6 separate regions of the Homo sapiens genome follow, and all the other regions are linked to region 1. The links are contacts of gene promoters, found by promoter capture Hi-C in blood cells and fetal thymus (Javierre and others, 2016). All regions are on one chromosome and are shown on one strand. The core of a region is centred on a gene start or on the middle of the fragment in contact, and the rest is flanking DNA. Distances in the headings are between cores, read along the strand shown. Region 1 holds the start of SMIM3 (small integral membrane protein 3). Region 2 has its middle 4.9 kb from the start of NDST1. Region 3 overlaps TCOF1 (treacle ribosome biogenesis factor 1). Region 4 overlaps GM2A (ganglioside GM2 activator). Region 5 has its middle 6.6 kb from the start of RPS14. Region 6 overlaps NDST1-AS1 (NDST1 antisense RNA 1).

Region 1 (3,721 bases), core at 903-3,402:
GGGGCCTCTTTAGGCAGTGGTTTGTTTGTTTGTTTGTTTGTTTGTTTTTTGGAGACAGAGTCCCACTCTATTGCCCAGGCTGGAGTGCAGTGGGGCAATTCGGCTCACTGCAGCCTCCGCTTCTGGGATTCAAGTGATTCTCCTGCCTCAGCCTCTCCAGTAGCTGGGATTACAGGCGCCCGCCACCACGCCTGGCTAATTTTTGTGTTTTTAGTAGATACAGGGTTTCACCATGTTGGCCAGGCTGGTTTCGAACTCCTGACCTCAGGTGATCTGCCCGCCTCGGCCTCCCAAAGTACTGGGATTACAGGCATGAGCCACTGCCCCTGGCCAAGGCCGTCTTTTGATGGCAGCCAATGTCATTAGACTACAACTTCTTCTGTACAAGTTCCCCAAAGTATCAGGGGCTCTCTAAGAGAGTATTACTTATTTCTTTCAGGTCCTGATGGTTTTCTCTTTGGAGTGGTTGTAATAGAGGACCAAGGAAGTTGTGAGCTGTTTTCTGGCTTTTGCTGTAACAAAAGCTTGTTGCTGAAATTGACTATTTCCCCCACTCCTGCATCCCAACACAGCATCCATTATTCTTCCCTTCAGTGCTCTCTTTGCAAAATCAGTCTAGCCTAGGCAGCAGACTTAACATGGTATGCTCCTGTGGGGATTCATACTTTATTTCTGGCTTGCTTTTAGGGTCCCAGGGCAAGTCGATATTAAAGAGATACTAATAAATTGCTAAATGGAAAGGGAGACTAGGACTCAGCTGGCTCCAGGCCTGAGCTTCTGCCTTGTCCCAGAGGGAAGCCAATGTTCACAGCAGGGCACATGGAGTTACCAGTTGTCCACCCAAAGGAACTCTCATCCCCTTCACTAACCAGGGAAAATGTCATATTAAGATTGTCCTCCTGTTGCAGTGAGCCGAGATCATGCCACTGCACTCCAGCCTGGGCGACAGAGCGAGACTCCGTCTCAAAAAAAAAAAAAAAAAAAAAAAAGATTGTCCTCCTTCAATCTTTTTTTACTATTAAATGAGAGCTTTGTATTAAACTATTCAGAATTGGGTTGTCCTTGTTTTTAGGTTCCCACACTATCTCTTTTGAATAAAACATGTTGTTGGGTGACAGCCCTTAGGGTTTTTCTCAAATCATTTCTCATGTGAATCCCCTTCATCCTCACTGTCCTTCCCTTAAGAAACTGGCGTGTGATAATGATGATTTAGAGGTCATTTCTGCTGACCTCATCCCTGAATCAGAGGAAACAGCATGGAGTAAGTTCTAAGTTCGGGGCCCACACCATATCAAATTTAGGCCTGGGGAAGGCAGTATGGCTCTTTCCAAACCCTCCAAAACACTACTGGGCTCCAAGACTGCTCAAGGTCTCACTGATAGTCAAGGCTTGTGCTCCTTTTTTTCAGAAGAGTAAGATTAAAGAAAACCACTGTGAATTAAAAAGTGTGGGTGCCAACATGGGACGGGAGTCCCCCCTCACTCCATGGATGACATAGAGGGGGCAGAAGATTACAGAATTGGCATTGTCCTGCGTGGAAGCTGGGCCACCCACAGTGGCGTGGGAAGCCTCTCAGATGCTGGATTCTAATGGGCTCTTGATCACCTTGGATTGGGCTATTTCATTGTTATCACAAAATAAACAGGATGCTCCAAGTCATGTTATGGCAGAGAACCAACCAGCTTCACACTGGTCCTCTAAACCAATCCTCACAACAGGACTGGGAGACAGGTGTTACCTTTCCCACTTTACAGAGAATGAAACAGAGTGGCAAAGCCTCCGAAGGACCCTACACTTCGGACATCGCAAAGCAGGATCTGAGTCCCGGCTCCTCTGTCCAAACCTACTTGCTAGGCTTTCTTTCCCATGTCTACTCTATAGCTGGAAAGGTCGTGGAGGACACATTTTAGGCCAACCCTCTCGGTTTACAATCCAGAGAGGGGAGACCCTCAGAAGCCAAGCGACATGTCCACGGCTACGCGGCGAGTGTGTGGCAACGTGGAAGGGGAGCCCGAGACGCCCTGGTCTCTCCCTTCTCTCGCAGGTTCCTTTCTCCCCGAACGCAGCCCGCAGGGGACGCTGGAGGAGGAGCTGAGCTGGAGTTGCCGGGGCCCCGGGACCGGGCGTTCCGGGGGCGGTCCCCAGCAGCCGCGCATTCCAGAGCCAGCAGCGCGTCCTGGCCGCTCCTGCGCTCTCCCGCCTCCCGGGGCTCGGAGGAGCCGGGGCACGTTCCAGGAGCTGCCTAGGGCTGAGGTTCCAGGCCTGGGGGTCGCTTCCAGCTGCCAGATCCCGTGCAGTCCTGGGGACCCTGAGAAGCACCGAGCCATCCCTGACCCAGGAACTTTCCGCAGACTCGCCGCCATCTGGGGTGAGTGGGGCCACCGGGGGATTGTTTGTGGGGCTCTGGCAGAGCGGAGCTCTTCGGATTCGCGACCTACCTCTAGTGCGGCCCCTTTCCCCGGGCTCCCAACGTTCTTCTTTATGTCCGGTCTCTCCTCCCCATTTCTCCCTTTTCATCACTTTTGTATTTCTTGCCCTCACCCCCTCCTTTTTCTCCTGCTGTCAGCTCTTAAGTTCGAGCCTCCTAGTGCACAGAATTTTGGGCCTGGGGGAGGCGGAGCTTGGGTGGGCGAACCCCAGCCCCACTCGGAGACTGGCTTCTCTCCGGGTCCGCTGCCCTTGCCTTCTCGGGAAGCCTCCTCCTCGGGCAGACTGCCACCTCCTGGCTCTCCAGGCCCAGCGTCAGGGTTCAGCGCCCGGGCCTGAGCACCTGCTTGGGCGCTGCGCTGGGTTTGGGTCTTTGCACTTACCTGTCCCGCTTTTCTCGAGGCCCCGTGTAGAAGGCGCCAGGAGTTTGGAGTCAGGAGTGGCGGGTTCCAGCCCTGGTTCTGTCACTAACTGCTTCACCATCCTTGTTTTTCCATCAGTGAAATTGGGAAAACATTTTCTGCGTGCAGAAAGCAAAGGAGAAAGGACATGAGCAAAGTATCTTGGAGAGAAGGCTTCCTTCAAGCTCCCTCCTGCTGGTTAGCTGTCCCTTTCCTGAGGACGTAGTTGTTCCAGTTGCTGGTTGTTTTGCTCCCTAGTCTCCCCCATGCCAGTTTCTTGAGGGTAGGGACTGCCTGTCTATCGTCATCTCTGAGGCATTCTCAGCTCTTGGAGCAGGGCCTGGCTAACAGTAGGTGCTCCATACATATGTACTGAGTGAAAGGATGAAAGGTGTAACCCCCCCCGCCCCCCCCACAAATTGAAACAAACCTCAGGGGCTGTTATTCTGATTGAGGGCCAGGCTGGGCTCTTACTTATGCAGCTGCACTTGTTTCTTCTGGACCAGCTGGAATCCTGCTGCACCTGGGGGCTGAGGAGTCTCCGGTTCATCTGTGGTGAATACTAAGGTCCTCAAAGCTCCAGGGTGTGGTGGTGAAGGCTGCGCAATCACACAAGTATCAGAGATTCCTTGAACATCTGCTATGATGCGTGCTGCTACTGCAGTGGCCACATAGTTTGGAAGGATTGGGGATGCCTGAATTAGGTGGAGGTGGGAGCGGGAAGAACAGGTACTCTGGGGGTTAGGAGACCCTCTGAATTACCCTAATGGAGGCATTTCCCCTCTCTGGCCCTTGTCTTCCCTATCTGTAAAATGAAGACATGGGAGTGGAACAGATGTTTGTCTGTGGTTGAGCATGACATGCTCTTTGGTTTATGCAGGCCGCACAGCAGC
Region 2 (3,422 bases), core at 288-2,787, 280 kb before region 1:
GCGAAAACCCTCAGGGTTTTAGCTGGCCCAGGTTGAGTCTTGTATCAGCCTCTAGCCCCTGGTCTGTAGGGGCTGTGTAAGCCTAAAGTTGTGTGTTCAGATGAGGGAGACAATAGTCCCTCATTCAGTATATTTGTATTAAACATCTACTTTGGTCCAGGCTCTTTTCTAGAACTGGGATGCAGCAGTGAACAAAACACATGGAGACCCTGTTTTGGACGTGGGGCTGACATTTGAGTGGTGGGATGAAATGAACAGCCCAACAAGCTCACTGTCAGGTGGTGAGATGTGCCTGGAAGAAAAATAAAACTGGCTTGTGGGTCAAGAGTGTGATTTGGGGGAGTGACCCAGCCATGTCAGGTGGTCAGGATGGTCCCTGGTGAGGGGCAGTAGACTCCGGGAGGGTGGCCCACGGGAAATTGAGGGAAGAATTTTCCAGGCAGAGGGAGCTGCAGGGCAAAGGCGCTGGAACTGGAGGGCATGGGTGGCCAGAGGCAGGGCTGAAAGAATGAGAGGATGGTGGAGGAGAGGGGCCAGAGGGCATGTGGAGACAGGTAGGGCCTCTTGGCCATGGGGAGGACTTTGTTGTTTGAGTCTGAGTGGAGGGGAAGCTGCTGGCGGGCCCGATGTGAGGACTGACTGGTTTGGGTACACATTTTAGAGAGACTGCTGGGGGTGAGGGTGGACGCAGGATGACTAGCTGGGAGGCTGCTGCAGTCTTGCCACGAGAGAGGTTGGGCGAGTCAGTGGTGGGTGGGGACGGCGGGGGAGCAACCAGGGGTTGGTTCTGGATTTATTTTGCAGGATGAGCTGATGGGATTTGCTGATGGATTAGATGTGGGGTGTGAGAATAGAGTGTTGACCGCAAGGTTTCTGGCTTGAGGAACTGGAAGGACAGTTGGACAGTATTGCTATTTACCAAGACAGAGAAGGCTGTGGGACAAGCAGGTTTGGGAAGAGCAATTAAGATTTGGGGTCAGCTGTGCTGGGGTGGGGCCTATGCTGGTGGGGGAGGGGCATGGTGCACATGGGTGCTGGGTCCTGCATGTTCCTGTTGCTGTCAGGAACAGCAACAGGGGTTGTGTGAGGGGCCCCAATGCTAGGAGTCTGTTCTGTGAGAACAAATGTTTCCTGGTCCCTTCATGTCCTTTTCTCTCTCTGCAAACCTCCCTCTGCTTTTCTCTTCCTTTTGGACGAGGAAAAAGGCAGATTCTGAAGCCTCATTGTCACTGTGATGGTCCTAGCCTTTCTGCCTGGCATGCCTCCTGACAGGGAGTTCCTTCTGGGGTAGGCAAGGTTGGGGGCGGAAGGGTGGGGTGGAGGTTCAGGCCTTATCCTGGCTCTGCTACCAACAGAGCTCTTTGCCTTGGTTTCCCCTCCTGTATGGAGAAGGGTTGAGGTGGCCCCAGGGTTCTGAGGGTGGCAGGGAGCATTTGAGGAGGCCACATGGCACAGTGGTTAAGAATCTGGGCTTGGGGTCAGGCAGGCATGGGCATGAATCCTTGCCTGCTGCTTGGCTGTGAGACTGTGGACGAGTAACATAACCTCTCTGAGCCTCAATTTTCTCATCTGTAGAAATGGGCCAGTGATAGTACCTGCCTCACAGGGTTACTGTGAGGTTGAATGAGGAAATGTCCATAAAGCACTTAGTGCCAGGTGCAGTGACTCGTGCCTGTAATCCCAGCACTTTGGGAGGCTGAGGCTGGTGGATCACCTGAGGTCAGGAGTTCGAGACCAGCCTGACCAATATGGAGAAACCCCGTCTCTACTAAAAATACAAAATTAGCCAGACACGGTGGCACACACCTATAATCCCAGCTACTCAGGAGGCTGGGGCAGGAGAATCATTTGTACCTGGGAGGTGGAGGTTGCTTGTGGTGAGCCGAGATTGTGCCATTGCACTCCAGCCTGGGCAACAAGAGTGAAATTCTGTCTCAAAAAAATAAACAAACAAAAAAATAAAGCACTTAGCAAGGCCCTGGCATATAGCACACCTAGTAAACCAAGGCCTCTGCTCACAGTGACCCATGCAGGCAGGCAGGTAAGGGGCTTGGCCTAGTGAGTGGGAGGAACCGTGGGAGGTTATTGAATAGGAGCATGCCAGGCATGTGGTTTGATGGGGCAGCTGTGAGTGTGGAGACTTGGGCTGAGTTTTCTTAGCAAGTCCAAGAGCCCCTTCCACCTTCCAGAGTGAGAGCTGCGGGCCGGCCCTAATGGACCATCTTCCTTTCCCTAGCCAAGGGTCTTCATTGGCTTGGCATGGGCAGCCTCTGTTTTGCACAGGTCCCTTGGGGTGGGGTGGTCATTTTCCTTAAGGCCTCCTATAGGACCCCTTGTCTCTATATCCCAGTGGCTAGCCTTAGGGAAATGTGAGGGAAGGGCTTTGGGGGTGTGTGACATCAAAGGGACTTAATTTACGTGTAGGTAGGGCTCTGGACAGGGCTGATGGGTCAGGCGGATCCTGGAGTGGCAGTCCACTGGACACTGGGAGTGACCTCGGTTTCTGGTCTGCATCCAGGCTGGGTGGTGCTTGCTCCAGCAGAGCCGTGGAGAGGTTGACAATGGGTGGAATGTGGCCCCTTCAGAACCCACACTTCACTGGTGCCCAGGCATGCCAGCCAAGCCCTCTGCTTCTGCAAGCCTGTTTCCCAGCAGTTGAGCTGTGCCAGGACAGCCAAGGACATTTCAGAGTCCCCAGGGCTCATAGCCAGGCTGTCACCGGGCATTGCTTATTTTCCCAGGGCCCAGGAGTCTTCAGGGATGGTGGGGGTTCTGGAGATGTTCCAAGGACTTTTCTTAACAGCTTGGTAAATTGAGGTCTGGAGAGAGCAAGGCACTTGACCAAGGTCTCACAAGGCCGCCTCCCTCATATCTGCCACTCCCCTCTGTTTCCGTGTCCTCTGCACAGACTCCTGGCCTTCTGCCTGGACGTTTGTAACAACCTCCCTCTTGTGGGCTCCCTAAGAGCTTTGTTTGTCCTCCATTATCGTAATCTTGCCATAATCTGCCAGATGCACACACTATTTGATGTGTCTACCTCCTGTCCCCTCCACTGACTGCCCGTGACAGAGTCTCCCCGACAGAGCTGTGCAGCATGAGGTTTAGGCCCCAGGCTCTGGAGCCAGTCTGAACTCTGTTTGGATGCCAGCTCTGCCCCTTCCTGGCCTGGTGACCTTGGGCATGATACCCTACTTTTCTGAGCTGCTGTCTTTGTGAAATGAAAACAGTAGCAATACTTAGTTGATAGGAATGTCAGGACAGTTAAATGGGATAACGTGTGAAATGCAGAGTACAACACCTGGTACCAAGTAAACTCTCAGAAATGGTCATCATTGTCCCAAAGGCCCATCAGTTGGTTGAACTGGAAAGTCGTGAGCATGGAGGAGTAGACCCAAGCTTGGACTGGGAGGCAGAGGATGTGG
Region 3 (3,647 bases), core at 33-2,532, 420 kb before region 1:
TGGTGCTTGCTATAAAAGGCAGGCAAGGGGGATAAGGGATGTCAGACTTCGATTATAAGTAGGGTAGTCAAGGAAGTCTCATTGAGAAGGTGTCATTTGGGCAGAGACCTGAAGGAAATGAGGGAGTGAGCTGTGTAGTTAACAGGGGAGAGAACATTCCAGACAAGAAGAATAGCAAGGCCGCGTTAGAGGCAGGGTGGCCTGACACATTTGAGGACAGCAAGGAGGACACTTTGCCTGAGGTGGAGCAGAGGGAAACTGACTCTTGAAATCTTAGTGTTACCGGCTCACTGCTGGGCACTGACAGATGGTCTTGTTCAAACCAGATAGCAGCCTGCAAGGTAGGTATCGCTGTTGTCCCCATGTTAAGAAGAAATCTGAAGTTCGAAGACGTGACGAGATTAGTTCAGTCCACCCGTGCCCCACATTGCTTAGCCTCATTAGAGTACTTGATATCCTGGCTTATTGACATTTACAGAGACATTGGGCCCTCTGGCCTCTGCTCCAAAGGCCTGGATTCCACCTGGTTCCCTCTGCTTCCACCAAGGGACTGGTACCATTTGGGCCCAGTCTTCTCCCAGCAGACTAGTAGACTGTGGTCATGCCACCTGGATGCCTCAGGTGTCTGGGCTGTGATTCGTGCTTTGGGAAGATTGGCTGGCCACGTCTTTGAAAGCTTTTTTAAAGGTCAAAGGTGGGGAAAACCCTGTCTCATGGCCTCTAGGCATGGATAGTGCCAGAGAGGCTGGGAGCTGGATGAATGCTAGCTTGGAACATTCCACCTCTGGCCTTTCAAAGGGGTTGTCTAAAAAGGTTTTAGTTGGGATTGGTTGTTCTTCTTGTCTCTGGAAGGTTTGGGACAGAACTGGCAGGGCCAAGCAGACATACTTCCCAGAGCAAAAAGACCCTCTTTTTTTTTTTTTTTTTTTTTAAAGAAAGGGTCTTGCTCTGTTGCCCAGGCTGGAGTGCGGTGGCACAAGCATGGCTCACTGCAGCCTCGATATCCTGGGCTCAAGTGATCCTCCCACCTCAGCCTCCTGAGTAGCCGGGACCACCAGTGCATGCCACCATTCTCAGCTAATTTTTAAATTTTTTTATAGAGACAGTCTCACTATGTTGCCCAGACTGGTCTTGAACTCCTGGGCTCAAGTGATCTTCCTGCCTCAGCCTCCCAAAGTGCTGAGATTACAGGTATGAGCCACCATGCCCAGCCAAAAAGACCCTCTTCTGAACCACCTGTCTATACAAGTCATGAGTTTGGGGAGATCTGGGCCCAAGAAGGATCCTTACTGTGCTGGGGATTAATTGTGGCTTTCTCTTTACCTCTCTGCAGAAGTGTTTCCTGGCTCAGCCCGTAACCCTTCTGGACATCTATACACACTGGCAACAGTAAGTGGTGGGGCCTATAGGGTGGAGTAGGGACGGACACCCCAAGCAACTCAGCTTGGAATAAGCTGGGATACCTATCTGGTCTAAGATCTGTCCCCATAGCCCACTGTGGACACCATTGTTGCCTCCAGAAAGCCAGCTCACATCACATGGATGGGTATTTCTGTGTGGATATCTGGTAGTGGGAGGGGACATTGAGAGCTGTGATCTCTTAAGAACAAGAGCTTCTCACCAGCTTGTCAGTTGCTCAGCAAACGTATATTGAGCACCTCCTGAAAGCCAAGTCCTGTTCTTACTTAGTATGCAAATATTGTCACAAGTGAGACAGACATGGTTCCTTCTTTCCTGCAGCTGACATTGTAGCCAAGGAGGTAGGCATAAGTCAAAGAATGAAACAAATGAATGTTAAATTACAGTGGTAGTAAGGATTACAAAAGAGAGGAATCTGTTGCCACAGCCACATAAATGGGTAAGTCTGGCTTCATCTGGGGGTCCAGGGGAAGCTTCCCTGAGGTGATCTTTGACTTGAGAGCTATAGGAATTGGAGGAGTGAACTATGCAGTGGGTAGAGAGTGGCAGGTGGAGTGTACCTGCCAGTGGAAATTGCTAATGCTAAGTCCTGTGGCTGGTGGACAGTACAGATGGGGCTAGGTCATCGCATGGATAGCCATGCATGGGCTGGTTATCCATGGTGAGGAATTTTGTCTTTATCCAAGAGCAGTGGGGCCATGGTAGGGTGAAAAAGTGAGGAGATTGCTCTGCACCATGGTGAGACTGGTGGGGCCATGGTCACCATCGTCCAGGCAAGAGCTGATGGGGCTTGACACAGGGAGAACAGGGTAGAAAGTGGATTCCCAAGAATCATAGGGATGAAACCAGGGCCTGTGGATGGGTGGGAGAGGAAGTATCTTATTGACTCCACATCTAACTTGTGTACCCATGCATAGAGCTTGAAGGGAACTCAGTTTGGAGGGGAAAGATTTCAATGACATGTTGAGTGTGAGATGCCTTTTAAACATGTAAAATTTATGTACTCTTCAAGGAAGGGGGAATCATCCAAGGATATATCAACAGAGGAATGGTTGGAAAATGGAGAGAGTAATTGTGTTCTCTTCATGCACTGGCCTGACCACAGCTGACTAAGGGAGTGAAGGACATGCAGACATATCCCATGAGGAATGGTAGAGAGTACTGAATTGCCTTGGATGGAAAGGAGGCAGGAGAGGGGTGTGAGGGACCACTGCACATCTTTGAGGACCAAGAATAGTGCGTTCTCTGAGGCCCCGGAGACAGAAGTGGGCCCCAAATGTACCTGCTTCAGGAAGACAGGTTTCAGCTTCTGAATATAATGACATCAGAGCTATCTAAAAATGAGGTGGGCTAGGTGGAAGTGGTGGGCTCCCTGTCATTAGAGGTGTGTAAACAAAGGCAAAAATGGTGTGGAAGGGATTACAGCCTCTGGTGGAGAGCTAAGGTCTTTGAAAACCCTGCCAACCCTCAGTCCTCTGCTGCTAAGGAGAGCTTAGAGCACAGGGCACAGCCCACACTTCCTCACCCTGACTTGCCCAGGTGAGTGGGTGTTATTCGTAGTACTTCCTTCCCCCAAAAAACTGCTTCAGTGAGCTACTCTGCACACTCTTCCCTGCCACTGGCCCCTTCTATGGGTGAGGGGGACAAGGACCTCAAACCCACGAAAGGCAGCCTAGCCTAGCAATTCCCTGCAGAGTTCAAACCCAGCAACTAGCTGTATGTATGACCTTGAGTGGATTTCTTGGCCTCCCTGAGTCTGTCTTCACCTATAAAATGAAAATAATGATGGCAATTATCTCATTGCATTGTGAGGGTTAGACACAGTGCTCCATATAAAGTGCTAAAACTACCGGTTGGAGGCTCCCCGACTTCCTGCACCCGCCTCAGTATTTATTAAGCATCTACTACAACCCAGCAATATTCTTGATATAGCTGGGAACAAACCAGAGAAAAATCCCTGCTCAACATTTTTGTTGGGGGAAAAGAGGCAGAATAAATTGATACATGTAAAAATGAAACCTGTTTTTAACAGGAGAATCCTGACAAGTGGCTTTCCTGGGAACAAGGGACCCTACTATCACATCCCAAACCATGACAGAGCAGAGTCCATCGCAGCTGGGAAACCTGGGGCCTAGACAGTGACTCCCTGGGATGGGGGTCAATGGGCGTGAGACTTCAAAGTCCAGGGCCTCAGCCATCTGGGTGCTTATCCTACCCATGCCCTAGAC
Region 4 (3,463 bases), core at 754-3,253, 480 kb after region 1:
AAGTGATCCACTGGGGATCTTTTCATGAGTGTCCTATTCCTTTCTGAGTTAATCACCTGCCCCTTGAGAGTGGGATTTCAGATGCTGTTAGATTTCCCATTGTGTTTTGTGTTTCCCATTGTTCCTGGCTCTGGGTTGGGCACGGGGTGTGACATGAACAAGGTCCTGGGTGTGGGCTGCAGAGGTGAATCCTCCAGGAGCTTGCCCTCTGCTGGGATTCCAAGGCTGGCTGGAGAGGAGTGGGCAGCAGGGAGGTGGGAAGTCAGAGAAGGTGCCCACCAAAGGCCAATTAGGTCAGTCTCCTGTTTGGAAGTTCCAGGTCTATCATATCCTGCCTTATAGTTTACAATACACTTTTGGGAGATTATGTCTTTTGAGTCTTTTAGTTTAGTCCTGCCTATAAAATGAGTAGGATAAGTGTTATCCCAGCTTCATAGGTATGGAGTCTCATAGATGAGGCTCAGGGACGGGGGTGCCTCACCCAAGGTCACTCTGCCAGGAGCTCATTTTTCCTGTGATCTGTGATAGTTTCTTTTGTCAACCTTTTTCTTCTTCTCCTTCCTTGCTGCCTGATTGTCCCCAGCCATCCCAGCTCAGTAGCTTTTCCTGGGATAACTGTGATGAAGGGAAGGACCCTGCGGTGATCAGAAGCCTGACTCTGGAGCCTGACCCCATCATCGTTCCTGGAAATGTGACCCTCAGTGTCATGGGCAGCACCAGTGTCCCCCTGAGTTCTCCTCTGAAGGTGAGCCTGGGGGTGGGTGGAGAAGGGGAGGTGCGAGGGTCTGGCCAGCAGGGGTACTGGGGCATGTATGCTTGGGGAACTGTGAAGAATTTCAGAATCCTGGATTCCCAGAGAATAGTACAGGACATGTAGATTCAGACACTCTTTCACAGGTTCATGGAATCTCAGGATCATAAGATTGAAAGGAATCTCTGATGTCAGCGCCAGCAACTTCCTGGTGAGGGCAGGAGTGACGGATACCTTGCACCTGGCAGAAGCGTCCTGGCCTTCTCTGGGCCTGGTGGCCAACTGCTCATTATTGTCTGACAGCTCTGGTTGGCCAATTTGGTTTTGTTGTTAATTATAAAATTGATATACCAATTAGCCAGTAATATATAGTCACTTTAGAAAACACAAGTGGTCAAAAAATAAATAAAATAGGCCAGGTGTGGTGGCTCATGCCTGTAATCCCAACACTTTGGGAGGCTGAGGTGGGTGGATCTTTTGAGGTCAGGAGTTTGAGACCAGCCTGGCCAACATAGTGAAACCCCATCTCTACTAAAAGTACAAAAATTAGCTGGGCGTGGTGGCATGTGCCTGTAATCCTAGCTACTCAGGAGGCTGAGGTAGGAGAATTGCTGGAACCCAAGAGGCAGAGGTTGCAGAAAGCCAGGATCGCACCACTGCACTCCAGCCTGGGTGACAGAGTGAAACTCTGTCCCAAAATAAATAAATAAATAAAATAAATCACTTGAAATCTCACTACCTAGTGATAAGGGATAAGCACTTTTAACATCTTATAGGATATTCTTTGCAACTTTCCCCCATACAATTACATACATAACACACATATTTATTTTTAATGGATATGTATGATAATAGGCAGTGCTCATTGTAAATGTCCTCCAGTAATCTAAATCCTAGAGATAGTCAGTGTTTGCTCTTTATATATCCCATCAGAATTTTTATGTGTTTGTAAATATATACACACTTATACTCATGGGATTATATGATATGTGCTATTATACTTGCTATTTTTTTTGCCTCATACTATATGTCCATATCTTTCCAAGGATTAGGTGGCTCTACTTATTCAATTTTTTTTTATCCAATCATTATTTTATTATTTTAATGTATTGTAATTTTAGAGACAGTGTGTCACTCTGTTGCTCAGGCTGGAGTGCAGTAGTGTGATCATGGCTTACTGCAGCCTTGACCTCCTGGGCTTAAGGGATCCTCCCACCTCAGCCTCCTGAGTAGCTGGGACCACAGGTTCATGTCACCATGCTTACCTAATTTTTTTATTTTTTATGGAGACGGAGCCTCCCTGTGTTGCCCAGGCTGGTCTCAAACTCCTGAGTTCAAGCAATCCTCCTGCCTCAGACTCTCAAAATGTTGGGATTATAGGCGTGAGCCACCTTGCTCAGCCCACCCAATCATTTTTAATGGCAGAAATATTCTGATGTGGATCTTTCATAATTTATATAACAAGTCTATTGTTGAACATTTAGTTTGTTTCCAGGGTAGTTTTTATTTGTTTGTTTGTTTATTTGTTTGTTTTGAGACAGGTTCTTACTCTGTTGCCTAGGCTGGAGTGCAGTAGCGCAATCTCAGCTCCCTGCAACCTCCACTTCCCGGGTTCAAGCGATTCTCCTGTCTCAGCCTCCCAAAGTGCTGGGATTACAGGCACCTGCCATTGCGCCCCACTAATTTTTGTATTTTTAGTAGAGATGGGGTTTCACCATGTTGGCCAGGCTGGTCTTGAACTCCTGACCTCAGGCAATGTGCCTGCCTCGGCCTCCCAAAGTGCTGGGATTACAGACACCTGCCACCATGCCCAGCTACTTTTTGTATTTTTAGTAGAGATGGGGTTTCACCATGTTATCCAGGCTGGTCTTGAACTCCTGACCTCAGGCAATCCACCTGCCTCAGCCTCCCAAAGTGCTGGGATTATAGGCTTGAGCCACTGTACCTGGCCAGAGGGTTTTTTTTGTTTGTTTGTTTTTTGTTTTGCTGTAGTAACCACCTTTGTAGAAATTATTCTTATAGTACATCTTTTTATAATTTTCTGATTCTCTAGATACACACTTTTTAGGTCTTTTGATACATTTTGCCAAAGTGCCTCCCAATGTTTGAATAAACCTGCATCATTCCTAGTGAGCGTAGATGTCTATTCATAAGTTTATTTGCCTTTTGTATTTACTTTGGGAATAACCTGTTTGTTTCCATCCATTGACTATTTTAGGGGTGTATGTTTTTATATTTTCTTAGAAAACAATGAAGACTTTTCATATATCCATTGCAACACCATTTAATATGGTCCTTTCCTCTCTAGCTAAAATTGCTACCTTTATATGATGCTCCTCTATGCCCTTCAGTCTGTTCCTGATCCAGATCTATTCTAGTACCAGTTTTGTGTTAATTATTTAGAAGATTCCTGATTTGGATTCTGTGTTTCTATCATTATCCTTAGACCTGTCTTAATCACAGCTCCTACGTTATGGGCTTTCCTTGAGCAATACCTGAGTTAGAAAATCATGTGGAAAGTGCTTTGCACAGGGCCTGGCACCCAGGACATGCTCAGTACATTTTATATCTTGTGAACATTTCGATTAGTATCTGTCTTATCCTGCAGTCTCTTGACCCAGACACAAGTCCTGGATATGTGGCAGCTTTCAGCTCCCCTGCACCTCCTACCAAGCCTTTTCCTAGCAGAGTCATTGTGTTTCCATTACTGTT
Region 5 (3,622 bases), core at 522-3,021, 320 kb before region 1:
AACAAAGCACATCCTGCATAGCCCTAAATCCATTAAACCTTGAGTCGACACAGCACATGTTTCTGCGAGCACAGGGTTGGGGGTAGGGTTACAGATTAATAGCATCTCAAGGCAGAAAAATTTTTCTTAGTACAGAACAAAATGGAGTCTCTTATGTCTACTTCTTTCTACACAGACACAGTAATGGTCTGATCTCTCTTTTCCCCACAAGGTGGGAGAGGGAGCCAGCCTTGCAGGTATCTAAGGGAAGATGGTTATGGGCAGAGGGAGCAGTATGTGCAAAGCCTAGAGGCGGGAGTATGACTGGCATGTTCTAGCAACAGCAAGGAGGCCAGGGTGGCTGGTATGGGGTGAGCCAGGGCAGGCAGGTGAGGAGATGTGACGAGAGGTCACTGGGGGTGGAGAGAGATTGTGTAGACCATGTAGGCCTTAGAGTTCATTGGCTTTTACTGAGTGGAGCCACTGGAAGGTTTTAAGCAGAGGGTGACAGAACTGACTTCTGTTTTAATAGGTGCACTCTGGGTGCTCTGTGGGGTGGGGTGAGGGGCAAAAGTAGAAGCAGGGATGACGGTTAGGAGGCTTTTGCAATAAAGCAAGTGAAAGACATTGGTAGCTAAGACGGAGGAGGCATCAGTAGAGGTAGAAAGAAGTCGCTAATATTTGGTTTTATTTTGAAAATGGGGTCCGATAGCTTCTCGGCCTTTTGGCTAAGATCAAGTGAAAATGGTGGCCGAGTGCAGTGGCTCACGCCTATAATCCCAGCACTTTGGGAGGCCAAGGTGGGTGGATCAATTGAGGTCAGGAGTTCGAGATCAGCCTAGCTAACATGGCAAAACCCCATCTCTACAAAAAATACAAAAATTATCTGGGCATGGTAGCGCGCACCCATACTCCCAGCTACTCGGGAGGCTGAGGCATGAGAATCGCTGGAACCCAGGAGGCAGAGATTGAAATCGTACCACTGCACTCCAGCCTGGGTGACAGAGTGAGACTCTGTCTCAAAAAAAAAAAAAAAAAAAAAGAAAAAGAAAAGAAAATGAGAAAATGGATCCAACAGGATTTACTGATAGATTAAACTAGACATGGGGCATGGGAAAAGAGTGTTGTCAAAGATGATTCTAGCATTTATGGCTGGAGGAACCAGAAGGATGGAGTTGCCCTCAGCTGGGGTAGGGAAGGCAGAGGGTGGAGGAGGTTTTTAGGGGAAGATCAGATGCCCACTCGTAGGCCTGAGTTTGAGCTGTTTATTACATACCCGAGTGGAGCTGTCAGAATGACAGCTGAGATAGATGAATCTGGAATTGAGAAGTGGATCAGGGCTGGAGGTGTAAATTTGGGAGTCTCCAGCATACAGATGGTATTTAAAATCACAAGACTGATTTTAATCACGAGTCCCGCCAAGGGGCTGAGTGTAGATAAAGAAGAGGCTAAGGACTGAGCGTTGAGAGCATGGGGATAAGAGAAGGAGAGAGCCAAGAAAATAAGCCATGAACAGAAATGAAAGGAGACCAGGAGAGGGCACATCCAGAAGGCAACTGGAGAAATGCAATCAAGCAGAAGGGAGTGTGCACCTGTGCCATCGCGCTTAGAGGTCAAGGATAACAAGGGCTAAGGATGACCGTTGGATGTAGCAACATGAAATACTGGGGACTTTGACAACAGCAGCTTGATTGGGGGGCTGGGTGGGGGGAGTGCAAAAGTGTGAATGGAGTAAGAGAGGGAGGTCCACACCTCTTGGACAGCTCTTTCCAATATTTATTTATTTATTTATTTATTTATTTATTTATTTTAAGATAGAGTCCCTCTCTGTTACCAGGCTGGAGTGCAGTGGTGTGATCTCAGCTCACTGCAATCTCCACCTCCTGGGTTCAAGTAATTCCCGTGCCTCAGCCTCCTGAGTAGCTGGGATTACAGGCACACGCCACCACACCCAGCTAATTTTTGTATTTTTAGTAGAGAAGGGGTTTCACCATGTTGGCCAGGATGGTCTCAATTTCTTGACCTCATGATCTGCCCACCTTGGCCTCCCAAAGTGCTGGGATTACAGGTGTGAGCCAGCATGCCTGGCCCAATTATTATTATTTTTTTAATTTTTAAAATTTTGTTATTTTTGAGACAGAGTCTCACTCTGTTGCCCAGGCTTGAGTGCAACCTCTGCCTCCCAGGTTCAAGCGATTTTCATGCCTCAGCCTCCGTATAGCTGGGATTAGAGGTTTGCACCACACACCTGGCTAATTTTTGTATTTTTAGTAGAGATGAGGTTTCACCATGTTGGCCAGGCTGGTCTCGAATTCCTGACCTCAAGTGATTCGCCCGCCTCGGCCTCCCAAAGTGCTAGGATTACAGGCATGAGCCACCGTGCCTGGCCCTCATTTTTCTTTAAATACTGAGTCTCCCTAAGTTGCCCAGGTTGGTCTTGACCTCCTGGGCTCAAGTGGTCCTCCCACCTCGGCCTTCCAAAATGCTGGGATTACAGGTGTGAGCCACCATGCCCAGTTCCTTCATAGACAGCTCTTGAGTTTTTCTGCAGAGGTGTGCCAGGGGGCAGATGGAGAATGGGAATGTGAGATCAAGAGGTTCTTTTTTTTCCTTTTTTAAGGTTGCATCAATAACAGATATTTTAACACTGCTGGGAATAGTCTAGAAGTGAAGGAAAAACATGCTGGAGCCCTGACATTGAGCAGGCAATAGGTAAAGGCCTCTGCTGCGCATGTGGAGGCATCGGCTTTAGGCAGGAATGTGGACAGCTCACCTCAGGTGCTAATGAGGAAGGAAGACGGTGGGGGCAAATGTGGCAGCAGGAGCTGGAGAAAGTTCTCATTCCGGAAGTGGAAAGCAAGCAGCTTCCTCTCAACAACCACAGGAGGTAGAAAATGTTTAATCCCCCCCGTTATAACTGAGGACACAAGGAAAAGGTCAACAGCTCTAAGTGGGGCACCAGGATCTGGGCCCAAGCAGTCTGACTCCAGAGCCCAATTCGTGTAACCTCAGGTACAGGTGTTTTGTAAATATCTGTTGATTGGATGAAGGAAGAGCAAGGAATTAGCCTGCAGCAGCAGAAGCCAAGCCCTTTCCTGGGTCCTCAAGCTCAACCTGGAAGGCCCCGTGCTCCCCATTCTCGGCAGCAGCTCATACTGTCATTTGTCCAGGAGCTCTATCCCCTCCTCCCCTTGAAGGGTAGTTTGCAAATGCAACAGAGGAAGGGTGGGAAGAAGCTGTGGCTCAGAGAGGGTGAGTTTGCTCACCAGGACACACAGCCAGGAATCAGACACCAACTGTGGCCCAGGTGGTCCTGGGACTTGGAGGGAGGACCTTCTCAAAAGTGTTGGCTGCTGTGAAGCTGTCGTGGAGTCATGGGTCTATTGCTGGTCTGAGCCCCAGAACACACATGAGCGCTAGTCTGCGTGTGTAAGTGTGGCACACAAGGGAGAGCGGCGGTGTGTGTGTTGGGGATTAGGCCAGGTGCACACCCTCCAGGGTCCAGGGGAGGAGGGGCTACAAAAGGCCTGGAGATGGCTCCCTCTGTAGCAATGCCCCTCTAGAGACCGGCAGGCTTCGTCCTCCAGGGCTGTAATTCACCTGCTCCCCGTGCTCACAGGACTCACACGCGGTCTGCGAGCAA
Region 6 (3,323 bases), core at 105-2,604, 300 kb before region 1:
CGTGAATTCAGCTCACTGCAACCTCCGCCTCCCAGGTTCAAGCGATTCTCCTGCGTCAGCCTCCCAAGTAGCTGGGATTACAGGCACCCGCCACCATGCCCGGCTAATTTTTTTTTTTGTATTTTTAATAGAGATGGGGTTTCACCATGTTGGCCAGGCTGGTCTCGAACTCCTGACCTCGTGATTCACCCGCCTCGGCCTCCCAAAGAGCTGGGATTACAGGCGTGAGCCACCGCGCCTGGACTTTTTTTTTTTTTTTTGAAACGGATGGAGTCTTGCTCTGTCACCCAGGCTGGAGTGCAGTGGCGCAATCTCGGCTCACCGCAACCTCTGCCTCCCAGGTTCAAGCGATTCTCTTGCCTCAGCCTCCCGAGTAGCTGGGATTACATACGTGCGTCACCATGCCTGGCTAATTTTTGTATTTTTAGTAGAGACCAGGTTTCACCATGTTGGCCAGGCTGGTCTTGAACTCCTGACCTCAGGTGATCCGCCCGCCTTGGCCTCCCAAAGTTCTGGGATTATAGGCATTAGACACTGCACCCGGCAATTCTTTTTTTTTTAAGAGACAAGGTCTCACCCTGTTACCCAGGCTAGAGTGCAGTGATGTCATCATGGCTCACTGCAGCCTCGATCTTCCAGGCTCAAGTGATCCTCCTACCTCAGCCTCTCAAGTACCTGGGACCACAGGCGCACAACACTATGCCTAGAGTATGTATGTATGTAGAGACGGGATCTCCCTATGTTACCCAGGCTGGTCTTGAACTCCTGGGCTCAAGTGATCCTCCTGCCTCAGCTCAGCCACTGTGCCCAGCCTCTGCAAAATTTTTCTTTTTAAATTAGGTGGCACGTGCCTGTAATTCCAGCTACTCAGGTGGCTGATGTGGGAGGATTGCTTGAGCCTGGGAGGTCCAGGCTGCAGTGGGCCATGATCACACCACTGCACTCCAACCTTGGCCACAGAACAAGACCCTGTTAAAAAAAGAAAGAAAGGAAGAAGGGAGGGAGGGAGGGAGAGAGACAGAAAAGTAGCTTGCTGGGAACTGGTGGTGCTGGCTGAAGTAGGCAACAGTGTTTGTTTTCAGTTACTTTTCACTTTCATTGTTCCAAAGACCAGCCCCAGCCTCCTAGGAAACAAAATTGTTACAGACTAAAACAACGTGGTTACACTGCGTTGTATCTTCCTATGCATTACGGCACTTTCTCACAGTGGACCGTATAGTCTTTGAGGACAGGAACCACATCTATCTTATTCATCTCTGTGTCTCCCTATTTCCCTTCTGCCACCAGGATGGTGTGAGGAAGACTATAGAAGAGGCACTAATAATTGTTGAATGAAGAGTGAAGTACCATTGATGGGCATTTTGTTAGGTAGACAGTGTCCTCTGTTTCATAATGAACCTGTGAACTTTCATTTCATCTGTTTATTCAGCAAGTATGTGCTGGTTGCCTACAATGTGCCTGGTGCTGTTTGGGGCACTGGGGCTCAGGGCGTCTGAGACACACACAGTCCTGCCCACATGGAGCTCACAATCTAGAGGGAGAGAGTGGCAGCTGACAGGTAACTACGAGGGTGATAAAGAGGGAGATGTGAAGTGTATACAGGAAGCCTGGTTTGGATTAGGGTCTGAGGAAAAGCCCAGGAGGAAATTAAGTTTAATTGGAGACTTATAGCTGGGGATGGTGGCATGTACCTGTGGTCCCAGATACTAGAGATGCTGAGATGGGAGGATTGCTTGAGTGCAAGAGTTTGAGGCTGCAGCAAGCTGTGATCTTGCTCACCGTACTTCAGCCCAGATGACACAGCGAGAGCCTGACACATTTAAAAAAAAAAAAAAAAAAAAAAAAGGCTGGTAATCCCAGCACTTTAGGAGGCCGAGGCAGGCAGAGACAGGCAGATTGCTTGAGCTCAGGAGTTCAAGACCAGCCTGGGCAACATGGTGAAACTCTGTCTCTATAAAAAATTAAAAATTAGCTGGGCTTGGTGGCATATGCCTGAAGTCCGAGCTACTTGGGAGGCTGAGGTGGGAGGATTGCTTGAGCCTGGAAGGTCAAGGCTGCAGGGAGCCGTGATCACACCACTGCACTCCAGCCTGCAGGAAAAAAAGAAAAAAGAAAAAAAGAAAAAAAAAAATCTCAGACCTAAAGGATCACAATGAATCATTCATCTAACATTTAAACAGTCAACCCTCTATACCCACAGATTCTGAATCTGTGGATTCGACCGACCATGGATCGAAAACATATTTTAAAAAATTGTCTGTATTGAACATGTGCAGACTTTTTTTGGGTCATTATTCTCTAAAAAATATAGCAATTCTTTGCATACAATTTACATTGTATTAGGTATTACAAGTAATCTAGAGATGATTTAAAGTATATGGGAGGATGTACATAGGTTATATGCAAATATTAAGCCATTTTATATCAGGGATATCCACACATTTTGATATCCATGAAATGTCCTGGAATCATTCCCCCATGGATACTGAGGGACAACTGTAACTGTACAGTGCTTGTCCTATAACAGATAACACACTAAGGGCTTTACATATTTAACTTATGTAATTCTCACAACAGCCCTGGGAGGTATGTTGTACTATTATTATCTACACTTTAGAGAGGAGGGCTGACCACAGAAAGTTTGAAAAACTGGCCCAAAGTCACATAGTTTATATGTGGCAGAGTCAGGATTCAAACCCAGGAAGCCTGGCTTGAGTCCATACTTTATTTTATTTATTTTTTTATTTTAAACTCTAATTTCATGGCATATTATGGCATCCCTACTCTAAATGGGAAATTAGGTAAAGGGGAAGGTGGAGTATACTGCGGAGGGCGGTGGAGCCAATAAGGCAGACAAGGCAAATAATTTATCCTGGGAACTATGGGCCATTCTGGTGGTTTTAATTAGGAAATGGTCATGATGAGGTTGCAATAGAGTCAGAGAGAGGGAGAGACACAGTGAGGAGGCTGTAAACATGGTCACGGCAGAGACCTGTGCAGCTTGGACTAGGGTGGTCGTGATAAAGAAGAGGGCCAGGTGCAGTGACTCACACCTGTAATCCCAGCACTTTGGGAGGCCGAGGCGGATGGATCACAAGATAAGGAGTTCAAGACCAGCCTGGCTAAGATGGTGAAACCCCATCTCTACTAAAGATACAAAAAAATTAGCCGGGCATGGTGGCAGGTGCCTGTAGTCCCAGCTACTCGGGAGGCTGAAGCAGAGAATTGCTTGAACTCGGGAGGTGGAGGTTGCAGTGAACCAAGATCGCGGCTCTGCACTCCAGCCTGGGCAACAGAGCAAGACTTCATCTCAAAAAGAAAAA

What was found. Contacts are between HindIII fragments. The CHiCAGO score rates a contact against its expected background, and 5 or more counts as called.
Region 2: a contact is called between a fragment that was not itself captured here and the fragment with the promoter of SMIM3 in region 1, in 1 of 17 cell types (megakaryocytes). The highest score is 6.6, in megakaryocytes.
Region 3: a contact is called between a fragment that was not itself captured here and the fragment with the promoter of SMIM3 in region 1, in 2 of 17 cell types (activated CD4 T cells and total CD4 T cells). The highest score is 7.0, in activated CD4 T cells.
Region 4: a contact is called between a fragment that was not itself captured here and the fragment with the promoter of SMIM3 in region 1, in 1 of 17 cell types (neutrophils). The highest score is 5.1, in neutrophils.
Region 5: a contact is called between a fragment that was not itself captured here and the fragment with the promoter of SMIM3 in region 1, in 10 of 17 cell types (naive CD4 T cells, naive CD8 T cells, total CD4 T cells and 7 more). The highest score is 15.3, in naive CD4 T cells.
Region 6: a fragment that was not itself captured here is called in contact with the fragment with the promoter of SMIM3 in region 1 in 2 of 17 cell types (megakaryocytes and M2 macrophages); the score reaches 5.0 in megakaryocytes.

Annotation. Positions count from the first base shown.
Region 1 is chr5:150,776,605-150,780,325 of GRCh38, forward strand. SMIM3 (small integral membrane protein 3) reads left to right here and starts at 2,153. Exons shown (of 2, transcript NM_032947.5): 1 at 2,153-2,368. It overlaps LOC124901110, which reads right to left. Exons shown (of 2, transcript XM_047417995.1): 1 at 3,303-3,721; 2 at 1-2,947. The coding sequence starts at 2,517. The coding sequence ends at 1,876. RefSeq lists a silencer at 2,048-2,237 and an enhancer at 2,675-3,536. The HindIII fragment of the contact is 6,508 bases long and covers 523-3,721 here.
Region 2 is chr5:150,501,511-150,504,932 of GRCh38, forward strand. It overlaps a transcript of NDST1 not described here. Among named protein-coding and RNA genes, the nearest start is that of NDST1, 4.9 kb to the right of the region's middle. RefSeq lists enhancers at 1-522, 523-1,081. The HindIII fragment of the contact is 3,713 bases long and covers 1-3,394 here.
Region 3 is chr5:150,359,823-150,363,469 of GRCh38, forward strand. TCOF1 (treacle ribosome biogenesis factor 1) reads left to right here. Exons shown (of 27, transcript NM_001371623.1): 2 at 1,334-1,389. Among named protein-coding and RNA genes, the nearest start is that of TCOF1, 3.9 kb to the left of the region's middle. RefSeq lists a silencer at 2,807-2,946. The HindIII fragment of the contact is 1,216 bases long and covers 675-1,890 here.
Region 4 is chr5:151,259,172-151,262,634 of GRCh38, forward strand. It overlaps GM2A (ganglioside GM2 activator), which reads left to right. Exons shown (of 4, transcript NM_000405.5): 2 at 584-745. Among named protein-coding and RNA genes, the nearest start is that of GM2A, 7.7 kb to the left of the region's middle. The HindIII fragment of the contact is 6,835 bases long and covers 1-3,463 here.
Region 5 is chr5:150,454,509-150,458,130 of GRCh38, forward strand. No RefSeq gene overlaps it. Among named protein-coding and RNA genes, the nearest start is that of RPS14, 6.6 kb to the left of the region's middle. The HindIII fragment of the contact is 6,015 bases long and covers 1-3,622 here.
Region 6 is chr5:150,478,107-150,481,429 of GRCh38, forward strand. All of the region lies in intron 2 of NDST1-AS1 (NDST1 antisense RNA 1), which reads right to left. Among named protein-coding and RNA genes, the nearest start is that of NDST1-AS1, 6.2 kb to the right of the region's middle. The HindIII fragment of the contact is 7,537 bases long and covers 1-3,323 here.